Linked DNA regions of Homo sapiens: region 2 is linked to region 1. Evidence: promoter capture Hi-C in human tissues and cell types (Jung and others, 2019). All regions are on one chromosome and are shown on one strand. The core of a region is centred on a gene start or on the middle of the fragment in contact, and the rest is flanking DNA. Distances in the headings are between cores, read along the strand shown.

Region 1 (3,795 bases), core at 309-2,808:
GCCCAGGTGACATGTAATTAAGAAAGCAAACCTTTTTCCAACCAAAAATAATATGAGAGATTCCAAATCCAAACAGAACAGAGCTGTGGATCATTTCATGTTTGTCTTCATATCATTCTCTCCACTCCACTCCACTGACACAGCGTGATGCTTGATTGTCCTCTAAGCCCCTTCCATTGCTGTCATCTGGGATGCTGGCAATGTATTGTGCTGAAAGGGAAGCTTATTAATAAAGTTAGTAACTCGAAGAGTCAGTGCAGGTTATTTGTAGGATGCTCATTATGAGTCTTGAGTCTGACTCAGTCCAGAAAGCAATGGAATATTCCGCATAACCACCTAAAGGACTTCTCTTTCCCCCTTCCCCAGGGTCTGTTTCTCCTGTAAGGGTTCAGAGCTGCCTGGCAGAGGCTGGCTGAAATAGGAGAAATCCTGACTTAAGCTGTTTCAGGAAAGTGATCCAGTCTTTGGAGAATAATCAGGACATAATTAAGTATGAGTAAAAGGCTTAGAGTTAGTCTGTTCTCCTCTGTAATGGGGTGTTCACTAGTGTGACAGTTGTTTTTGTGACTATTGCTTTTACGTACATTTTTGACCAGCACTTGGAACACTACCTCAGGGTAACTTAAATGAAAGTCCATTTTCCAGGATGGAGTAAACTGACAGAAATTTCCATCGTGCATCAAATCTGCTATAAGTTGTTTGCCTTCTGGGTATTTTTGGGCCCTAGTTGTACTCCTGAAGAAATAACCACTGTTGCTCCAAGTAGAAAGTGGTTGAGGAGACAGCTAACAGATACGTCCAGTTCTTATTTTCTATCACAGAGATGTGAAAAAAAAAAAGCCTAAATTATCTTAGAAGGAAAAGCATTCCTCTGTGCTGGATTTCCAGTGCTTCCCAGCTTTGCACTGTTAGCTTATTTTTTCCAATGTCCCTATAATAACAATCCACTCCTTTCTCTGCACTCCTGGCCCCTCGTGATGTTTTATCATGCTCATGCTGAAAGAAAAGGTGTCTGTCCATACTGTATCTCTTCATTTGGCCTCAGGGATTTCCCTTTGATTTGGAAAGAATAATCTTTCAAATTCCGCTATAAACTATACAGGAGAAAGAGAAAAATAAGATAAAGCTCCTGGAATGTGCACTGGTATTGACATTTCGTTCAAATAATGGGCTGAAGGTGAACTATCTTTACTATTGCTCATGTGAATGATCAATTATTATCAATCCAAACTATCAACAGTGCTGCTTATTATTGATTTATACTGCATGGTTTAATTTTGTCTCCATCCTTCCAGACATTAAAACATAGCCAATATTTAGCAGTTCCCGCCATTCACCATGAGCACCTCCACAGCCCCCAACTCCTCTCTCCCAGTTCTGCCCAGGATATTTATGGTGAGTAGCGAGTTATCTCCTCTTTGGCAGTCATCCCTGCTTTCCTGTGTGGAGGAATTGCCCACATTCGCATTTGCAAACAGAGGCTCACTCAAGTGTCACTAAAGGAAAGGAGGTGGAGCCTGAAGAGCTTTAAAAAGCAAAGCTGAGTCATTCCACTTTTCAAAAAGAGAAACTGTTGGGAGAGGAATCGTATCTCCATATTTCTTCTTTCAGCCCCAATCCAAGGGTTGTAGCTGGAACTTTCCATCAGTTCTTCCTTTCTTTTTCCTCTCTAAGCCTTTGCCTTGCTCTGTCACAGTGAAGTCAGCCAGAGCAGGGCTGTTAAACTCTGTGAAATTTGTCATAAGGGTGTCAGGTATTTCTTACTGGCTTCCAAAGAAACATAGATAAAGAAATCTTTCCTGTGGCTTCCCTTGGCAGGCTGCATTCAGAAGGTCTCTCAGTTGAAGAAAGAGCTTGGAGGACAACAGCACAACAGGAGAGTAAAAGATGCCCCAGGGCTGAGGCCTCCGCTCAGGCAGCCGCATCTGGGGTCAATCATACTCACCTTGCCCGGGCCATGCTCCAGCAAAATCAAGCTGTTTTCTTTTGAAAGTTCAAACTCATCAAGATTATGCTGCTCACTCTTATCATTCTGTTGCCAGTAGTTTCAAAATTTAGTTTTGTTAGTCTCTCAGCACCGCAGCACTGGAGCTGTCCTGAAGGTACTCTCGCAGGAAATGGGAATTCTACTTGTGTGGGTAAGTACTCCAATGAAAAGGTGCTCCAGGTCTCCGGGAAACTGCCCCCACATCCCTGTTGGTTCAATCTGGTATACTTGGGCATTTAACAAAGTTTGTCTTTGGGTATGTATAGTTGCTTAATTTTTGTTTTCTGATGCATGTTTATTTTCTTACTGGCCATTAGAGCTAATCTGCTACCAACTATAAAACTTCATAACTCTCAAACTGTACTTCTGTGTATAAGTGAATGAATATGCCTCATTTTAAACTAGCAGAACATTTCATGGAAGCTTCAGCTTTTACTCTGACAAGAGGAGTAATTAACACCTGGCTAATTGCTTGGAAATTAGGGAAACAGATGGTTGATTTTTTGTTTGTCTGTTTGAAACTCTTAAGCCACAAAGAAAAAAATCCTTCCTTCTGATAACTTGTAAGAATTCAGAAGTTCTAAAAATTAGTGAAAAATGGAAAGGGAACTGTGAACAAAGGTAGTTGTGAAAATTAACCTAAATTTCAATTTCAACCTCCTTCACTTTCTCCCCACTCTTACTGTTTCTGAGGCTCTGACACAACTCCGGAGTTTTAGTAACAGGTGCATTGCAACTTTAAGAACTGCCAAATATGATAATGGGTAAATAAGCCACACTGTCCTCTCATATTAAATGAATTTTTTGCCAAGGGGAAATGGGAGCTTGACTGAATGCGAATTACAATCCTGCCAAAGGATATTGCCTGAAAAACATTCTCTCTCTAACTGTTAATTCATTTATTTAATCCTTGGGTGAGCCTCCAACCTGCTGCTTAGACACGGCAGCCGCCTTTGTTGATGAGAGGTTATAGCTGCCCCGACATTCCATTTTTATCAGCTTGCCCTTTTGAGATGGCGTCTGGCTTTTAAAAAGAGGTAGATTGAGGGGGAAAACACAGTACAGTTTCCAGAAGAGACACCTATGGAAGACAGTACACAATAGGCAATAGTTTGAATAAAGAGAGCAGAATGGAGCCAAACTGCCAAAGCTAGGCTGCTGTCCTGGCTCTCCCATTAAGGAAGTTCCCGATGAGGAAATCAGGTGCTTTTGCTCAGAATCTCTGGACTCTGTTCTCAGGTAGCACTCCTTGTAACAGGTGAGCAGAACTCTAGGGTATTTGAAATAAAGACTTAATCCTAGTGATCTCTATGTTCCCAGCACCTAGGACATTCCTGCTTCCACAGTGTGTACTCAGCAAATTCTTGTGTATGAATGAGGCGTCTTTCTCTGATCTGCTAATGACATAGTCCTAGAGAACAGCAACAAAAAGAGGGTGACAAATGACAAAAATGGCCCCATGAACCTCAGACTCAGCTGTTGGAGACAGAAGTAAAACTTCTGTATACAGTTATGTCAAATGGACTGGACTCTCTTTGGGGTGGGAGAATTTTCCGTGGAGTAGTTGGCAAATATCTAGAGTTGGGCACTGTCATTTGCATGGGATGTGAGGGGTGATGGTTGGGCCGATCTATCAGGCAGCCAGAAGCTAGGAAAGAAGAACCCAGGTTGCTGAAGCAGAACCCAAGAAATTACAAAAATGAGCTTTTATGGATGGCTCTAGGATCTCAGAATAGTCTGATTCCTGCTGGCAAGCAAGTCTATGCCTTGTTTTCCTTGCCACCTCTGGTGGCTCAGAAGTGCCTTCA
Region 2 (4,176 bases), core at 1,014-3,513, 360 kb before region 1:
ATACCTTAATAGAGCTGTTTACAAAGTTTTTTTTTTTTTGAAAAGCGAGATCAGAGATTCGAATGTGAAAAGGCTGTGACATATAAGTAATACTTATGAACTAGCTCACATTGAGTAATCGTTTTGTCTCATCAAGAGTCCTATATACTGTGGGAAAGTTTGTTGTGCACCCGAAACATCTATGTGTGCCGAGCGACTTTGTGGACAGTGCCTCCCCGGTAAACCCGCTCTGTCTGCAGTGTCCGGAGCTTCTCCCACAGGAGTTTGCTAATCCCACCTTTGTGGCCAGATTCTGTGCTGCAAAACGGACATCTCCTCCCCCTCTTCTCCATTCCCCTCCTTCCTAATAAGACTCTTTTCTGGAGAACTGAGGTCAACATCAGATTTCAAATATTTAAAGTGGATACAAAACTATTTCAGCAATGCAGACAATTAGTTGCATTGTTGTGGTCAATGCAGTTGTTGGTAAAACATGTCTCCTGATATCCTACACAACAAATTTCCATCCTAATAGATACAGACTGTTTTTGACAACTATGCACTCACAGTTAGGACTGGTGCAGAGCCATATACTCTTAGACTTTTAATTCTGCAGGGCAAGAAGATTATGACAGACTATAACTCCTGAGTTATCTACACAGATATATTTCTAGTCTGTTTCTCAGTGGTCTCTCCATGTTCATTTTAAAGTATGAAAGAAAAGTGAGGGCCTGAGATAACTCACCACTGTCCAAAGGCTCCTTTCTTGCTTGTCACAACCCAAATTGATCTCAGAGGGTCTATTATTGAGAAAATTACCAAGAACAAATAGAAGCCTATCACTCCAGAGACTGCTGAAAAGCCGGCCCACAACCTGAAGGCTGTCAAGTATATGGACGGTCCTGTACCCACACAGCAAGATCTAAAGAATGGATTTGACAAAGCAATATTGGCTGTCCTGGAGCCTCCAGAACTGAAGAAGAGCTGGAAGCCTATGCTGCTATGAACATCTCTCCAGAGCCCTTTCTGCACAGCTGGTGTAGGCATCATACTAAAAGCAATGTTTAAATCAAACAAAAGATTAAAAATTAAAATTCATTTATGCAATAATGACAAATACCCTGCACCAACCCACATGCATCCATGTGAGACAGGGATTAGAGGTATGGCCCACTTCTCCCTCCCAATACTAGTTAATTCTGAGTAATTGTGTATTGTTAGAAAAGTGATCAGTACTCATTTTTGGTTTTTGTTTCAAAAAACAATTTTGTTTTTACTTAAAAGCAAGGCATGCTTGTGATGACTGTGTAACAGACTAATTGGAATTGTTGAAGCTGCTCCCTGGGTCCATTCTGGAGGGTAATCTGGGACATCTTAGTGGGGTTTTATTTTTTTCTTTTTTGGAGGAGGAGTGTTTGTAGGGTTTGTTTTTTAGTCTTTTTTCTTTTCTTTTCTTTTCTCTTTTTTAATTCATTAACCAGTGGTCAGTCCTTAAGAGGAGAAGGACGGATTGACTCCATATTCGACTTCCTAAATCTAGTTTAAAAAACATGTTCCCTATCTGGGGTGCTTTTAGGAAAGAATATAGTAAATGCCTTATTTAATAACATACCTCTTTTTGAAAGTTACCTTTTCTCTCCACCCTTGAGTAGGCTCAGTATTTGATGAAACTCATGAAAGTGGGTGAAAATTCTCTTGCCCCTGTTCTTTTCTGGGATGCACTAAATATGTGACTGTGACTTTCAAGGAAATTTGTTTGCCGGTTGCTGATTTTTGGGGAAGTTAATTTCTAACTTCTTTAACTGATGAATAAAGAAAAGTATTGCACCTTTGAAATGCAACAAGTGGATTGAGTTTGTAACTTAAAAAAACTTTTTTCCCTGTCAGTCATTGTCTTATATTATTATAGATTTGCAATCAATAGTATATGATGTTTCTAGAATGCAGCTGAAGACCTGGTATGTAGAGGCAATGTGAAGAGCGGTAGCAGAAGACCGACATCTATGGAATGATTCACAGCCTCTCAAGTTATAAGGATGGAGACCTGCTTCATGAAGAAGTTGGGGTGTGGTGGGGATGGATAGAACACTTAACAACATGAGATCAGTCAGGGGAATCTCCTCACTTCTGTGTAGCAGACGAGGAACCCAAGAGCCCCCAAATGAGGCTCTCTGGTTTGTTTTTTTTTTTGAGATGGAGTCTTGCTCTGTCGCCCAGGCTGGAGTGTAGTGGCACAACCTCGGCTCACTGCAACCTCTGCCTCCCCGGGGTCAAGCAATTCTCCTCCCTTAGCCTCCCGAGTAGCCAGGACTACAGGCACGTTCCACCACGCCCGGCTAATTTTTGTATTCTTAGTAGAGACAGGGTTTCACCAATGTTGGCCAGGCTGGTCTTGAACTCCTGATCTTGTGATCCGCCCGTCTTGGCCTCCCAAAGTGCTGGGATTACAGGCATGAGCCACCACGCCTGGCTGGCTCTCTGGTTTAATAAAAATTGTGTAAAGAATCTTATTGAAAGGTGACAATGTGCTGGCGGCCCTCGCTGGCTCTCAGCGCCTCCTTGGCCTCAGAGTCCGCTCTGGCCATGCTTGAGGAGCCCTTCAGCCCGCTGCTGCACTGTGGGAGCCCCTCTCCAGGCTTGCGGAAGCTGGTACCAGCTCCCTCTGCTTGCAGGGAGGTTGAGGGAGAGACGCGGGTGGGAACCGGGGCTGCATGTGGCCTTGCGGGACAGCGCGAGTTCCGGGTGGGCGTGGGCTCCGTGGCCCCGCACTCGGAGGGCGGCCGGCACCCCCGGCCCGGGCAGTGAAGGGCTTAGCACCTGGGCCAGCAGCTGCAGAGGGGGGCGTCAGGTCCCCCAGCACTGCCAGCCGGCCCGCGCCACGCTCAAATTCTCACCAGGCCTCAGCCACCTCCCCATGGGGCAGGGCTCGGATCTGCAGCCCGCCATGTGCAAGTCCCCCCGCGGTGGGCTTCTGCTAGGCCCTAGCCTCCCTGAGGGGCACCGCCCCTGCCTCAGCGGCGTCCAGTCCCATTGACTGCCCAAGGGCTGCTGAGTGCAGGCACGAGGCACGAGCGCAGGACTGGCAAGCAGCTCAGCCCGCAACCCTGGCATGGCATCCACTAGGGGAAGCCAACTGGGCTCCTGAGAGGGGTGGGGACTTGGAGAACTTTTATGTCTAGTTAGAGGATTGTAAATGCACCAATCAGCACTCTGTCTAGCTAAAGGTTTGTAAATGCACCAATCAGTGCTCTGTGTCTAGCTCAGGGTTCGTGGATGCACCAATCAGCACTCTGTATCTAGCTAATCTCCTGGGGACTTGGAGAACCTTTATGTCTAGCTAAAGGATTGTAAACACACCAATCAGCACCCTGTGTCTAGCTCAAGGTTTGTAAATGCACCAATCAGTGCTCCGTGTCTAGCTAATCTAGTGGGGACTTGGGGAACCTTTATATCCAGTTAAAGGATTGTAAATACACCAATCAGCACTCTGTATCTAGCTCAGGGATTGTAGACACATCAATCAGCACCCTGTCAAAACGGACCAATCAGCGCTCTGTAAAATGGACCAATCAGCAGGATGTGGGTGGGGCCAGATGGGGGAATAAAAGCAGGCTGCCAGAGCCAGCAGTGGCAACCTGTCTGGGTCCCGTGCCACGCTCTAGAAGCTTTGTTCTTTTGTTGTTTGCAATAAATCTTGCTGCTGCTCACTCTTTGGGTCTGCACTGCCTTTATGATCTGTAACACTCACCGTGAAGGTTTGCAGCTTCATTTCTGAGGCCAGTGAGACCCGAACCCACTGGGAGGAATGAACAACTCCGGACGCGCCACCTTAAGAGCTGTAACACTCACTGCCAAGGTCTGCAGCTTCACTCCTGAAGCCAGCGAAACCACTGAACCCACCAGGAGGAAGAAACTCCAAACATGTCCGAACATCAGAAAGAACAAACTCCGGACACGCTACCTTTAAGAACTGTAACACTCACCACCAGGGTCCGCGGCTTCATTCTTGAAGTCAGTGAGACCAAGAACCCACCAATTCAGGACACATTATCAAGATTCTTCACAAATGTTAATAGGGATTTTTATCAGTTTTAGTTGTAGTTTCCAATTTCTAAAAATGTTCAGGTAATTTTTTTACACCTTTCAGAACCTAGCTCATGAGTGTTGAATCAATGCTTTTTCATGTCAATTCTTTGT

What was found. The method cuts DNA at HindIII sites, captures the fragments that hold promoters and counts their contacts. A contact is called where the count stands out against the background at its distance.
Region 2: a fragment that was not itself captured here is called in contact with the fragment with the promoter of EGF in region 1 in 1 of the 25 tissues and cell types used here (dorsolateral prefrontal cortex).

The regions. Positions count from the first base shown.
Region 1 is chr4:109,911,325-109,915,119 of GRCh38, forward strand. It overlaps EGF (epidermal growth factor), which reads left to right and starts at 1,559. Exons shown (of 24, transcript NM_001963.6): 1 at 1,559-2,138. The coding sequence starts at 2,012. The HindIII fragment of the contact is 5,642 bases long and covers 1-3,674 here.
Region 2 is chr4:109,554,748-109,558,923 of GRCh38, forward strand. It overlaps the pseudogene CDC42P4. Among named protein-coding and RNA genes, the nearest start is that of MCUB, 3.4 kb to the right of the region's middle. The HindIII fragment of the contact is 3,956 bases long and covers 286-4,176 here.